Regions from separate parts of the Homo sapiens genome. Here regions 1, 2, 3 and 4 are each linked to region 5. The links are contacts of gene promoters, found by promoter capture Hi-C in blood cells and fetal thymus (Javierre and others, 2016). All regions are on one chromosome and are shown on one strand. Each heading gives the region's core, a stretch centred on a gene start or on the middle of the fragment in contact. The rest is flanking DNA. Distances are from core to core; before and after follow the strand shown. Region 1 overlaps LINC01677 (long intergenic non-protein coding RNA 1677). Region 2 overlaps LOC105378885 (a long non-coding RNA gene). Region 3 has its middle 90 kb from the start of LINC01676. Region 4 has its middle 8.5 kb from the start of LINC01677. Region 5 holds the start of NTNG1 (netrin G1).

Region 1 (2,812 bases), core at 41-2,540, 1.1 Mb before region 5:
CTTGCCCAATTTTTGGAATCTGGGAAGGGGAAGCCTTACTTATCCATCTAGTTTTCAGGTATTCCTCTTCCTTAACTCAGCCTTGTTAAGCTTCTTCCAAGTCCGTGTGCCAGGCAGAAAGTAACAGTGATTACTGAAAACACTTTAAAAGAGATAGGTCTTATACTCTATTAAGGGACAGCTTACTGCCCAGAAAATATAAGTAGCCAATTTGCTTGTTACATACAAGAATCAATTAAACTAAAACATAAACATAAAGTAAAATCTCAATAGATATAAATGCATATGAACAATTTAAGATGAAGAATTTAACAAAAAAAAACATAAACAGAAGAAAATGTGTTTATCCTCACCAGTAACCAAATAATAACAAGAGTTAGGTTAATCTCCCACCTGATAAATTAACTAATTAAATTATTACTGAGTATTATTATTGATAATACTTGATGGCCAGGTGCTGTGGCTCACACCTGTAATCCCATCAATGAGAGGCTGAGGTGGGCGGATCTCTTGAGGTCAAGAGTTTGAGACAAGCCTGGCCAATATGACAAAACCCTGACTCTACTAAAAATAAAAAAATTAGACGGGTGTGTTGGCACGCACCTGTAGTCCCAGCTACTCGAGAGGCTGAGATCAGAGAATTGTTTGAACCTGGGAGGTGGAGGCTGCAGTGAGCTGAGCTGAATTCACACCACTGCACTCCAGCCTGGGTGGCAGAGTGAGGCTCCGTCTGCTTAAATAAATAAATAAATAAAATAATAATGCTTGATGGCAAAAATGCGATGAGTGTTGTATATCTGTTACTATTGGGAGCATTCAGCCCTTCACTTATTTAAGTCATTTACTGATCACATACAAAGTGTAATAAGCCATGATGACACATCAGTGAACAAGAAGAAAAGGTTTCTGCTTTCATGGAAAATATGGTTAATCAAGGAAATATTAAACAAATACTTACATGAAAATAATTATCAAAATTCTTGCAATCTTAAAATAAATATCTTGCCTATTTGAATTCAAGGAAGTTTAGAATTTGAAAATTTATTGCTGAAATTGAATTGCCTCACAATCACACATGGAATATGTTTATAACTCATAAGTTTTCCTCTTTCTTCAGCTGTAACTGATATTGATTAATTAATTGATTAATGAAGGTATTTGAGGTATCTTGATTGCTCCAAAATAATTTAAGGAATAATCAAAGTTACATACAGAACAATACTTATTGTCTAAATATTTTAAATACTCTAATATTCTTTTCTGTTGTCCCTTTAGATTCAAAGACAATTCAAGTAAATTATCAGGCATAGAAAGGAACAGAACAGGCTACAGAGTTTCTTAGAGACATAGTTTAATTCATGATTTTTTACCTTGATTTCTTTCAATGTTTTATAGCATTCTCTAGGAAACATATTTTTAAAACTAGAAAGCTCCACTCACTATTAATTTTCAGTGTTGGGGACCTAACAAATCTATGACTTGGTAGCCTATTGTTACAGGCCATATGTTGCTGTGTGTATGGTAACAGCACTCACTCTGAGGTCAAGGAACTTTGTATTAAAATCTCAACTCTCACATTTTTTTGTGACATTAACCAAAACAACTTTTTAAACTCAGTTTATTTTCATTTATATGGTAACAATAATAGTAATGTAGATTACGTCAGGGCAGGTATTATTCTTTTGTTTATTGCTGTATAATTAGTGCCTAAAACAGTTTATGGCAGCTAGTACCATGCCAATTAAATATTTTGGAATAAAATAATCAACCAATTAATGAACAACATACTCTAACTCAAAATATTCATGTGAAGATTAAACTGTAATGTCACTAAATCATTAGGCATTATTCTGATCCAACATTCCACTTCCTTTATGGCCTTTGAATTTACAGAATATATTTCATGTTCCTGGATGTTTCACTCTGCATTAGTAAAGGGTATGTAGAGAAGTTAATTAGGTTTGTTGATGTGATTGTGTAAATACCAATTCCAAATTTTTATCAAAAATATGAAATGACAAGACAACTCTAATTACAGTAATTCACTTACATGTTATACTGGATTGAGAGCTAAAGAAGAAGAGCACAATGAAGTTTCTTATAGTGATTTCAAAGCACAAAAATGAAAGCATTTGTAACTCGTATTATCTGGGGAAATCTATTATACTTAACCAAACAATGAGCAAAGTCATCTTCAAAATTAATATGTGATTAATAGAGTCTCTTAAAATAACACATTAATACTCTTAAATTACATATGTATAGTATGAATCACAATAATTCCAATTAATTTTTCTTTAATGTTGTTATTTTTTATACACTGATACATGCCAGACATATTTAGGACCTATATTAGGCTGTTCTCACATTAGACTGCTGTAAGGAAATACCTGAGACTGGGTAATTTCAAAAGAAAAGCGGTTTAATTGGCTCATGGTTCTGTAGGCGGTACAGGAAGCATAGTGGTGTCTGCTTCTAGGGAGACCTCAGGAAGCTTCCAATCACAGTAGAAGGCAAAGGGGGACCAGGTGAGTCAAATGGTGGCAGCAGGAGCAGGAAACGAAGTGGGGAGGTGCCACAAACTTAAAACTATGAGATCTGGAAAGAATCCACTCACTACCACGAGGATAACACAAAGTGGATGGTGCTAAACCATTCATGAGAAATGAGCCCTCATGATTCAATCACCTCTCACCAGACCCACTTCCATCACTGGGTATTACAATTCAACATGACATTTTGTTGGGGACACAGATCCAAATCATATCATTACAACTCTGACAATTCTTATGTCTCATATTCTCACACTGAA
Region 2 (2,703 bases), core at 132-2,631, 1.1 Mb before region 5:
TAAAAACAGACATATAAACCAATGTAACATAATAGCCCAGAAATAAATCCATGCATTTACAGTCAATTCATTTTCAACAAAGTTGTCAAAAGCACACAATGAGGAAGGGAGAATACCTTCAATAAATGGTACTGGGAGCTGGCTGGGTGCAGTGGCTCACGCCTGTAATCCCAAGACTTTGGCAGGCCAAGGCAGGCAGATCACAATGTCAAGAGATCAAGACCATTCTGGCCAACATGGTGAAACCCCATCTCCACTAAAAATATAAAAAATTAGCTGGGCATGGTGGCTCGTGCCTGTAGTCCCAGCTACTCAGGATGCTGAAGCAGGATAATTGCTTGAACCCAGGAGGCAGAGGTTGCAGTGAGCCAAGATCGCGCCACTGCACTCCCAGCTGGTGACAGAGCAAGACTCCATCTCAATAAATGAATAAATAAATTAATTAATTAATAAATGGTACTGGGAAAACTGAATAACCATGTGGAGAAGAATGAAATTAGATTTCTACTGTAGGCAATATAAAGAAATCAACTTAAAATGGATTAAAGACTTAAATGTACTACCTGAAACTGTGAACCACTAGAAGAAAACAGGGAAAAAGCTTCATGACTTTGGTTTGGACAACTGTCTTTTGGATATGACCCCTCAAAACACAGATAGCGGAAGCAAAAAAAAACAAAAAAAATACATGAATGGAATTACATTAAACTGAAAAGCTTCTGTATAATAATAAAAACAATTGACAAAGTGAAAAGACAATCTAGAGAATGAGAGAAAAATATTTGCAAATTGTGTGTCTGGTAAGGGGTAAATATCCAAAATATCTGAAGAACTCAAACAACTGAACAGCAAGAAAACAAATAGCCCAATTAAAAATGGGCAAAAGACCTGAAGAAACATTTCTGAAAAGCCATATAAATTGCCAATAAGTACATGAAAAATGCTCAACATCGCTAATCGTGAGGGATATGTAAATTAAAACCATGAGATATTACCTCACACATGTTATTGTCAAAAAGACAACAGCTAACAAGTGTTGGTAAGGATGTGAAGAAAGAGGAACTCTTATACACTGCTGGTGGGATATTAAGTTCCATAGTCACAGACACAAGTAAGGAGGTTTCTCAAAAAAAATAAAAATAAAAATAGAGCTTCCAAATGATCCAGCAATGCTGTTACTGGGTATATATCCAAAGGAAATGAAATCAGTGTGTCATAGAGGTATCTGCACTCCCATGTTTATTGCAACACTATTCACAATAGCTAAGCTGTGAAATCAACCTAAGAGTCCATCAAGTGATGAACAGATATAGAAACTGATATATCTCTTATCATTCAAGATTATTCAAGGCTTTCTCTTTTCTTAGACATCTCTGTTAGTCACAAATTACTTCATGTATTGAAAATACATTGTTGTCTAATTAAAAGTTTTAAAATCAACCAATCAGCATAGGATGATTTTGTTTGCCTAATGGAAAAACTATTAGAATTTAAAAAATCAAAACAACATAGATAACTGGTTCTGAAATATGTGTATCCAAAAATTATGTGAGGATCCTTTTAATATGTAGATGATTATGATTCATGAGTCCTTGTGGATGGGTCCAGAAATTTTGTATTTGAATAACAGGCAACAACTCAGTGCCCATTCAGAAATTTTAGTTTAACTGAGGAAGAGGGTCAAGCAAGCCCAGAATTAAGCAGGAAAGGGCCAGAGTTTTATCTGTATAAAGGCATATTGAACAAGGTGCGATCCAGAATATCATTGGCATGATGAGGACGAATGTTCTCAGTGAAGTTGACTAAAGCAAGAACTGCAGCTCTGGCAAACTAGTAACAAGCCAGGGACCTGGCAAACCAAGAAGCAGAAAAACCTATACTAGACAGATAAAAAGTGAGCAGTTGATCCCAGGAGAGACTGTGCTTTTGAAAATCAATAAAAAATAGATGTATTGTTATTCATTATGATGATGATGATTATTATTATTAATTTTTTCTAATCTGGAGACTATCAAGTAAATGGACGCATCTCTTTCCACATATTCCTAAGCTTATTCATTGTCTCTTTTTATTTCCTCCTTCATTGAATATTTAATCAAAATTGCTACTAAATCTTTTTTGTCACTGACATTTTAGCTAGACTGCAATCATCTGTCAAGAATTACAATTTTAGTTCATTTCTTTGTGTCATGCATGTATAGCTTAGCTCCTGGCATACAATTTAAAACTTTATTTCTTTATATGTGCTTAAGAACATTATCAGAAAACTGCACTTTTTTCCTCTAGCTCAGCTCTTAGGAATCCCTAGAATTAAAAACTAATCATCTAAAATCATCAAGACCACTTGTACTTATTGAAGGCCATATGAATTATGTACCTGACTGTGAGCCTAACGTATTTTGATTATTTGGAGTAAATATATTACTGGTTCTTTCTCCCACTGTGAAAATTGTCCTAAAATACAAAGCTAAAGCTATTCTTTGTAAAATAGTTATTTTCATATATTCATGCATATGGAAACATTCTTTTCATAGAGTTGTTCAACACTGTATGAAAATGTCTTTCTAATAATATCATCAAAGGCAACAATAACTTGTTCTGAATATGAAAAGTTTAAGCTCATATTAATGGTTAATAAATAACATATTTCCTTACAAAGTTTTACATTTATTAGCATCTATACTTATCATTTTTGGCAATTCA
Region 3 (2,700 bases), core at 107-2,606, 1.4 Mb before region 5:
AGGTTCAAGTGATTCTTCTGCCTCAGCCTCCTGAATAGCTGGGACTACAAGCTTGTGCCACACCACACCAGGCTAATTTTTGTATTTTTAGTAGAGAGGGGGTTTCACCATGCTGGCCGGGCTGCTCTTGAGCTCCTGACCTCGTGATCCACCCACCTCGGCACTGTTTTAAAAGTGATTCTCAGCAACTACAACTTTTTTACATTTTAAGAAATTGTTAAAATCCGTCACCTTTGAAACCCCTGAAAGTAACCACTATTGTAGGATACATTGCTGAGAAAAGTTTAGTAAACTCAGGGGCAAGAAATAAGATACAAGAAATGATGAAAAAATAATTTAGTAAATTCATAATTGAAGAAAAATTGGTTTTCTGGATAAAAATGAAACAAGGTGAGTTGTGTACAATTTAAAAATTCTCACCTACAATTGTTACAATTTTGTAGAGGTGAAAATTAAGATTAGAGAAACGCTGTCTTGAAAGTGAATGTAATGATCAAAGGAATAGATGTATAATGCACAACTTTCATAAATAGAAGTGGTCATCAAATGGAATAAAAATAAAATAAATAATTGAATAACAGAAAAAAATAAAAACTGAATGGTTCAGAATGTGTACAGAGAGGAAGAATATAAAACTTAAACCATGATATGGAAAAGAAAAAATAAGAAAACACAATGAATAGAAACATTTCACAAACTACAATGAAGATCAACAGGATGAATTCACCAATTAAATATAGAGTCATCGTTAAAATCAATGTCAATTTATAGTATATGTACCTAAAATGAAACCACACAAATAATGTGTAAGTAGTGACACAAGACATGTACAAATAGCTTCTAGTTCTGCTTACCTTAGGCAATGAACATAAGAAAAAATAATCTATTTTTTATTATTTGAGAGATAGTAATTCATCGCATTTTTAAAGCCTCTGATTCACTAAGAATTTAATTCTATGCTGGTTTCCTAGGATGGAGAGGCCACTGTGTTTGTTTGATTGGCCACCTTGAACTGACAGTGCTTAAATCCTTTATGAAGGACATCTTATTTCATTCAAATAGCATTTTGAGGTTTACTGCTTTCCAGATTTCCTCTCTATTCTCTTTCTCACCTCTCCTCTCATTCTCACTATCCATACTCTTCTCTTTTCTCCACCCCAGTCCTTCTCTCTCTCATCTCTTTCATTTCTTAACATCACCAAAAATCTACAAGATACCAATCAACACAGTAGTCCAATAATTTGATCAAAATCACATAAATCTTTTTTATTTTAAAGTACAGCCTGATTCACAGCCTTAATCTTCTCCCTCTTACAGTATGCAGGGAGGATGTTCTGCAATAATAATATAAAGACAATTGTTTCTCAAGTTGGACATATCATTGCTCTTCATTTGTCATTGTAAATCCAAATTGGCAAATTGTAGTGTGTAATATAGACTACCCAGCTTCTTGGAAATCGTGAAGAACTTTTCTGTATTCAAGGTAATTCAAGGGCTTCCTCTCTTCTGAGTAGTACTAAAAAACATTTATTTAAATATACTATCCAATCACATTCTAGAATACATAATTACATGACACATTTCCTTCAAGCCTACTTATTATTCAAGGTAAAAATTTTCTTAGGAAATCATGAGACTGGGCATGTATCTTAAGCATATTTGTTTCAAGTTCTATGTCTGATTTTTTAATTATTTAAACAATATTTTCTCCTTCTGTTCTTGATTTCTCATTTAATCTTTTAGTTTAAATATCATTTGTTTTTACATCATTGTAATATACATAAAGCCTGTTTTTTTCTTTAACAAAGAAGAAATTAGCAATGCAATAAACCAAATTCTAAGAAAGACCCTTAGTTTATAATTCTTCTACAGTTAACATCACCCCAAGGATCTATAACTAACGTTAATTAATATTAAGCTATATCTAGGTCTAACTGTTCTAATAATAATAGTTAATACTTATTGGGAGCACATTTTATGCCAGGCACCTTGCCAAGCACTTTACATGTATTAATCTAATTTAATCATCATATTACTTTTAGGTATTATTAGTATCCTTCTTTCCAAGATGTGAAAATGGAGCAGAGAGATTAACTAATTTACTTCAGGTCACCTAAGAAGATTTATGTTATCTTAGTAATATAAATCAGCATACTATTTAGTATATCCAAGTGTAACAAATATAATATACACTAATGTTAGGAGGACAACTCTAACCCTTATCATATATAATTTTGGGAGATAATTTTACCATAAAAAGAAATAGAATCATGAATGTGCATTTAAAGATCAAATTAAAAGACATTTCTCAGACTAATGCTCTTTGAAGTAATTTTGTTATTCTTTAGTTAAAAATTCTAATTATAAAACTAAGACATCTAATATTAAGTTCAACAATCTAGAAAATAAAAAAGCAATTACATCAAAAATGAATATATACAATGCCTTTTTCAAAAGCAGAATAAATATATACCATAGAAATTATTTTTGTACTAAGGAAAGAATAAAATAAATTTCATGGTATGCCACAGAATCAAACAAATTGTTTCAGTCTGCTGAAGATTGTATTGCTTAAGGTGAAATATTCTATTTTTTGAGAATCTACATTAGAATTTTGTCATAAAGTACAAGAAAACAGAGTTCAGTCAAAGTCTAATTTACTAAGCTTCTATTTCCCCTAAAATTTAATGATTATTTGTT
Region 4 (2,700 bases), core at 200-2,699, 1.1 Mb before region 5:
CCTTTCTTGTCCATGATGCTTTTGCCAAAATCTATGAACTTACAGAATTCCTCACTCATGGAATTCAAACAGTGTTTCAAAGAAAGTGAAAGGAAGAAATTTGCATATATTCATGGCATTCACTTATCTTACCATTTTGCTCATCACCTTGAAATAGCTTTCCTGACAGAACAGTAAAATGTCCTACTGAAGTCTATGCTGGGACACTGTGGTAATGTTACTCAGGCTAAAGTGTAAACTTTAAATCAGTGATTACTCTATGGTTATGTTTTTACCATAGCCAGAATTCACAAGTCCAGAAGTGAAAAGGTGAACAGTGAAGTGTCGTTTCTTACCCACCATTGTGATCCAGAAAGGTTTGCTTCCCATCCCTGCAACTGTGGACTCTGATGGTCTTCTTATTCCTGTTTCTAAAGGAAAAGGATTCTTCCAAAAGATAAACCAATAGTTTTGTTAAGCTTAGAGTTGAAATTTCACATAGATGTTTTGTGCCCTAATGCTAGTGAACCATCAGGGAAAAAAGAACCTTAGAGACAGGTAATTTATTGTGACTCTCAGGAGGTATTGGGGTGCTGCTGCACAATATGGGTGAGAATGGTCAAGTCTGAAATGAAGGAGATCTCATGAAATGCCTCTTAGAGCTCTTATCCTTGCTGATTAGAGTCAACAGACAGCTAATCTGATGGGACAGAACTGCAAATGACCCAGACCATTTAGAAATGAAGTTTCGGGACAACACACCCTACAGGAAATAATGACTATCCAGAAGAATATGGAATGGCTAGTGGAAGAACTTTGGCCCTGACCAGTTAGAGCAATATGCACTGCAATAATTATAAACATTTATTTTTCACTTTCATATTGTCTGTGTATACATGTATCGATGTATTTCCCTCTCCTATTCCCCTATCATATAGCATTGTATGTGTTAGTAGTAGGATTTTTTTATAATTTCAGTGTTTAAGTTTTAATATACAAAACAATATGACTAATTTAAAAGAATAACTTATTTTTGAAAAGCAGCGACCTCTTTTGGGGAGCATGGTTGGCAAGTTTTCAGTTGTACGAGGGGTCATTTCGCCTATTAGGCAAAAGCATGGTTTGTTCTTGTCTTTATTTAGAAGTTATTTGCTTAAAGAAAACTGTGTGGGTTAAATTTTGCCAAAGAGTAGATTTTAGTGAATTTGCATTTTATCAGGTTACCTAAGCTAGGACTACGTTTTCCCTAGTTGTCTTTATTGTGTAGTTTGCTGTTAGTATTGTTACAAGACACATTTGATTGCTTTCCAAAAGGCATAAGAGAATCACCAGCTGTACACTTTTATACTCTGAAACCTGTGCATGGTACCACAATAGCTTTAGAATGTTGTTGTCACTGATCTAGAGCTCACCTTGCTGCTCGTAACATCTGGACCTCTAGCTCCTGCAAATCTTCTTCAAAGTCTCTGAGTCCTAAGCCAAGTGCACATGTAGCTCTGTGGTGAAAGGCAGCAGCTTTCATAACAAGTCTCCAATAGCTTCAAAGTAAGAGGTGGGAGAAGACAGATATTTCATCCTTTTGGGTTCCAATTTGCTACTAATCTTTTTCATATCCAGATTTTATTTTTAATTACTGTCTGGCCAAGCTATAATGACTTTAGATTCAACGCTAGACACAGGAGCATTAGCCAGCCAAAAATGTCCCATCAACTCCCATGGTTGCTTAGAGTCTAACTTTTGTAAATCATTTATTCTATACCCTTCACCTTGGTTCTCCTTTTCTTTGTACCATGACTGTTACAAATGCTACATAGAAAGACAGTGAAAGTTGCAGCTTGAGCTTCAGAAATTTGATTTGTGAAACATTCATTTAAACGTGCTGAAAGTTTAAAAATGACCAGGTTAACTACAGACCTGCTTGGAAGGTATTCCTGCCCCTTGAGAAAAAGTAAGAGGAACAAATGAAATCAGAGTTAGCTGATCGTAACCTATATTTAAAACTAATAACGAAAAAAGGAGAAAAAGTTAAAGAGAAAAACCAAATTTTCACAGTGGAACTGGCTAAATTTTGACTGTAACTACTTTCTGAATGATAGTATATTTCCATCTTCATTTTTTTCTTTGACAGTCTATTATAATTCACTTTTTTTTAGATCATAGAAAAAATTTTAAATCATAATCCACATGTAAAATGTATTTGGAGGGTAACACTTCCAAGTGTGTGTTCTACTTTGCAAAGTGACACTCATGTAACAGAGACTGTGAATAGCTTGGCCAGGCTTCTTTAGATCAACTTATTGAAAAAAAAAAAAATCCCACAATGCATTCCCAGTGCTGTAACCACATTGTTGATACAGATCTCACTGACTTTGTTCTGGTAGCTCCTCTAAATGTTTAGAGACACTGAAATTACCTTTATCTTTCCCAATTGATATTGGCATGTCAGATCTCATTTCAGGAATAAGCTTGACAACTATGTGGCTATATCTGTGGATTTTTTAAATTTAATTCTTTCTTTGTCTCTCTACTTTTCTTTCTCCTTTGTTGGGTCTTTTACTGCAGACTTTTAATAATGCTAAGGAAGAGTTCATTTGCTGCTTTCCATTTCTTTTTTAATTACTTGAAATTTTACACCCTGACACAAAAATTTGTACCATCATTTGAACTCAATGTCTTCATGCATAATCTGAGAAAATTTAAGCAAACAGAAAACAAACAAAA
Region 5 (2,743 bases), core at 80-2,579:
TGAGTCTGAGCCCGCCTTGGTGGGGAATGAAGCCTGGAGCATCGGAGCATTTGTCTTTCTCTTAGAAAAGGCAAGGAAGCCTGAAATGCGCAGCTCTCCCTTGAACTTCAACTTTTTAAAGGGGAATGAATTTCTAAAGGAGGAGTTTCCAGTCTAGGGCTGTAGGGGCCTCCGGGCAAAGGAAGTGCTTGTTGAAAAACAACATTGTGATCACTTCCAGCGGCGAAGGGTGTGCTTGGGAACGGTTTGGGGAGGGGACAGAAGAGAGAGGGGTGGGATGGACGGCGGCAGAAGTGGGAGGTACACGAGGAGTTACTGGAAACGGCGCTTCTGTGGAGGAGCCGGGGGGGATGGGGAGTAGAGGGAGGGGGCCCTGTTGCCTCAGCGCCCCGAGGTCGTGGAGCGGCAGCAGCTGCAGCCGGAGCAGCACCAGCAACAGCAACAGCGAGCGGGACGGAGTTAGGACCGCTCGGAGCGCACAGGTCTCGAGGTAGTATAAGGTTTGCTATCCTTCCACTTGCTGGCAGTTGCAGAAGAAGATCTGCTTTTTAAGTGAAACGTACATGCCACCCCTCCGAGGGCTGCGGCTTCCCCGGGCTTGCTTCTTTGCCGCTCCTCTTTCCGGCTCTCGCGCTCACTCTTTAATTGGCACTGGCCCCTAAGTTTGCCAGGAGCTCGCTGCCCGCTCGGAGCAGGGTCCCGGCCGGGAGCCGCTGGTGGGGGCGGGGAGTCCGGGAGCCGCAATCCAGAAGCGTCGTGGGCCATGTATATTTCATCAAACGGACTTTGGGTGCGTCGCGTCTCACTGCCATCAGTGCTATGTGCAGTGACATTTCTGACTTGAGTGGAGGAATGCGCGAAGGAAACCCGGGCGAAATTGGTATTAGAGGATCTTCTTGGCGCCAATGCTAATTGTCCTGATTTATGCCCCTTCTGACTAAGCTCAACGTCTTCATCTGAAATAAAATGAAAGCGGTGCCAAGCGGCATAGAACCGCCTGGCCGCTGGTTCTGATCCCCGGGAACCAGAAAATCGTCCTGCGGCTTGAAAAAAAAAAAAAGAGGAAAAAAAAAAGAAATAGAAATAGAAAAAAGAAAAAATATCCCTCAGTAAAAGTTTAAGGCGAGAAGTGTCAGAGGCAGCGGAGCGAGGAGGCGCGGAGGAGAGCCGGCGAGCAGGGGACTGGGCTGGCACGACCTCCGAAGGCTGAGATCTCATTATTAATATCACTATATTTTTGGAGGGAGAGGCACCTTTCTCATCCTCTCTTCCTCTCCGCCCACCCTTACTCCCTCCCCCTCATCTACCTGTCAAAGTCACTGATCTTTTGCATTTCGGAAGAGGACGTCAACGGGAAGGAATTCCCCCTCTGGGTGCGGGCTCCGAGAGGGGGCGACTTGCAGGAGGCTCCCCCCGGGGGCGGAGGCGAAGGTAATTAAGCGGCGGGGAGTGGCGGGCCGGCGCTGGGTTCTCGGTCCTCGGGGTCCTCTCCCGCCGGCGGCCGGGCGCGATCGGAATCCCCGGGCTGCGGCGGTGGCGGCGGCTCGGGTCCTCACGCCCACCCCTCCCGCTCCGCCCGCTCCCGCCTGGGGAGGAGGCTCCGCGGGAGCTGCCGCCCTCCGCCCGTACGCCGCCCGCGGGCTCCGCTGCTGCGGCCGCCGCCCGAGGCGGACCAGGCTGGCTGCGCAGGGCCGCCGCCCCGCGCCGTCGGCTCGGCTCCCGCCCGGCGCAAGGGCAAACGAGCCACACGGTAAGTGCCTGCGGCTCGCCTCTCCTACTGCGACCCGAGCCTCTCGCCCGTGCCCCTCTCCCCCGGGTTTCCCCACCCCCCGCCGCCCCCCGCCCCACCCGCTGCGATGCACAGGCGGGAGGGAAGGCTCCGGGTGGGCGAGGAACTTTGTAAAGCGCCCCGAGGAGGCAGCGCGCGGAGCCCTACGCGCACACACAGCGGCACACGCTCACACCCACACACAAGTCTTCCCGGGGGTGCGCCCCGGGCCGGTGATGCGTCCTCTTGTTGTGTCCGGAGCCCAGGCGTGGGGTCTGAGCCTCCATCCGCCGACTGACAGGGGCCCCGCGCTCTCCCTCTCTCACGCACACCTGGCCACACACATCGCTCAGGCGGCTTGTCGTTATTTTTTCTTTCTTTCGCCAATTATATTTGTTTGGGGAAAAGCAAACAAAAAAAACAAAAAAACACTTGCCCTATTGCCGGCCTTGGGGATCTGGTGGCCACATCGAGAGCTTTTGAAGTCCCTTCTTTTAATCGCCTTTATTGGTGCTAGATTAAAACATTACTATCCCATGTTGTGCAGCTGGGGAGAAAGGGAAATTGAAAGAGGAAGACTTGGTGTAGGGATGCTGTTTGGAATATTCTCTCATATTCTTTACTGGCATCATATTAATCGGTTGATGGATTCGGCTAGGGACACTGAATTGCACTCCTGTATGGATCTGTGGATATCTATATATAATACAAATAATACTGAATATTATTGGGCCTAAAATAACCAATTAAGTGATTCATACAAGGAAAAACTTAGATATAAAAAGAAACTGCGCCCTCTGCTGTTAATTTTAGTACCCTCACCCGGGGACTTTTTTTTTTTTTCCTTCAGAAATCCACTTAAGAGTAGGCTGTCATCTTACAGGGCAAGGGAAGAAAATTCCTAGCGGGGATTTTAAAGCAACTTTACTTGGAAAAGTCGCAGGTTGAGCTCCTATAGTTGCATCAGGTACAGAT

The links. Contacts are between HindIII fragments. The CHiCAGO score rates a contact against its expected background, and 5 or more counts as called.
Region 1: a contact is called between a fragment that was not itself captured here and the fragment with the promoter of NTNG1 in region 5, in 2 of 17 cell types (endothelial precursors and M2 macrophages). The highest score is 10.4, in endothelial precursors.
Region 2: a fragment that was not itself captured here is called in contact with the fragment with the promoter of NTNG1 in region 5 in 1 of 17 cell types (endothelial precursors); the score reaches 6.0 in endothelial precursors.
Region 3: a contact is called between a fragment that was not itself captured here and the fragment with the promoter of NTNG1 in region 5, in 1 of 17 cell types (total B cells). The highest score is 7.8, in total B cells.
Region 4: a contact is called between a fragment that was not itself captured here and the fragment with the promoter of NTNG1 in region 5, in 2 of 17 cell types (endothelial precursors and M2 macrophages). The highest score is 8.9, in endothelial precursors.

What each region holds. Positions count from the first base shown.
Region 1 is chr1:106,010,575-106,013,386 of GRCh38, forward strand. The region is part of intron 3 of LINC01677 (long intergenic non-protein coding RNA 1677); the gene reads right to left. Among named protein-coding and RNA genes, the nearest start is that of LINC01677, 16 kb to the right of the region's middle. The HindIII fragment of the contact is 2,404 bases long and covers 89-2,492 here.
Region 2 is chr1:106,065,528-106,068,230 of GRCh38, forward strand. All of the region lies in intron 1 of LOC105378885 (a long non-coding RNA gene), which reads right to left. Among named protein-coding and RNA genes, the nearest start is that of LINC01677, 39 kb to the left of the region's middle. The HindIII fragment of the contact is 1,334 bases long and covers 715-2,048 here.
Region 3 is chr1:105,707,891-105,710,590 of GRCh38, forward strand. No RefSeq gene overlaps it. Among named protein-coding and RNA genes, the nearest start is that of LINC01676, 90 kb to the left of the region's middle. The HindIII fragment of the contact is 2,614 bases long and covers 50-2,663 here.
Region 4 is chr1:106,035,360-106,038,059 of GRCh38, forward strand. No RefSeq gene overlaps it. Among named protein-coding and RNA genes, the nearest start is that of LINC01677, 8.5 kb to the left of the region's middle. The HindIII fragment of the contact is 1,986 bases long and covers 457-2,442 here.
Region 5 is chr1:107,139,710-107,142,452 of GRCh38, forward strand. It overlaps NTNG1 (netrin G1), which reads left to right and starts at 1,330. Exons shown (of 8, transcript NM_001113226.3): 1 at 1,330-1,431. RefSeq lists an enhancer at 970-1,501 and silencers at 1,435-1,724, 1,745-2,024. The HindIII fragment of the contact is 6,022 bases long and covers 1-2,743 here.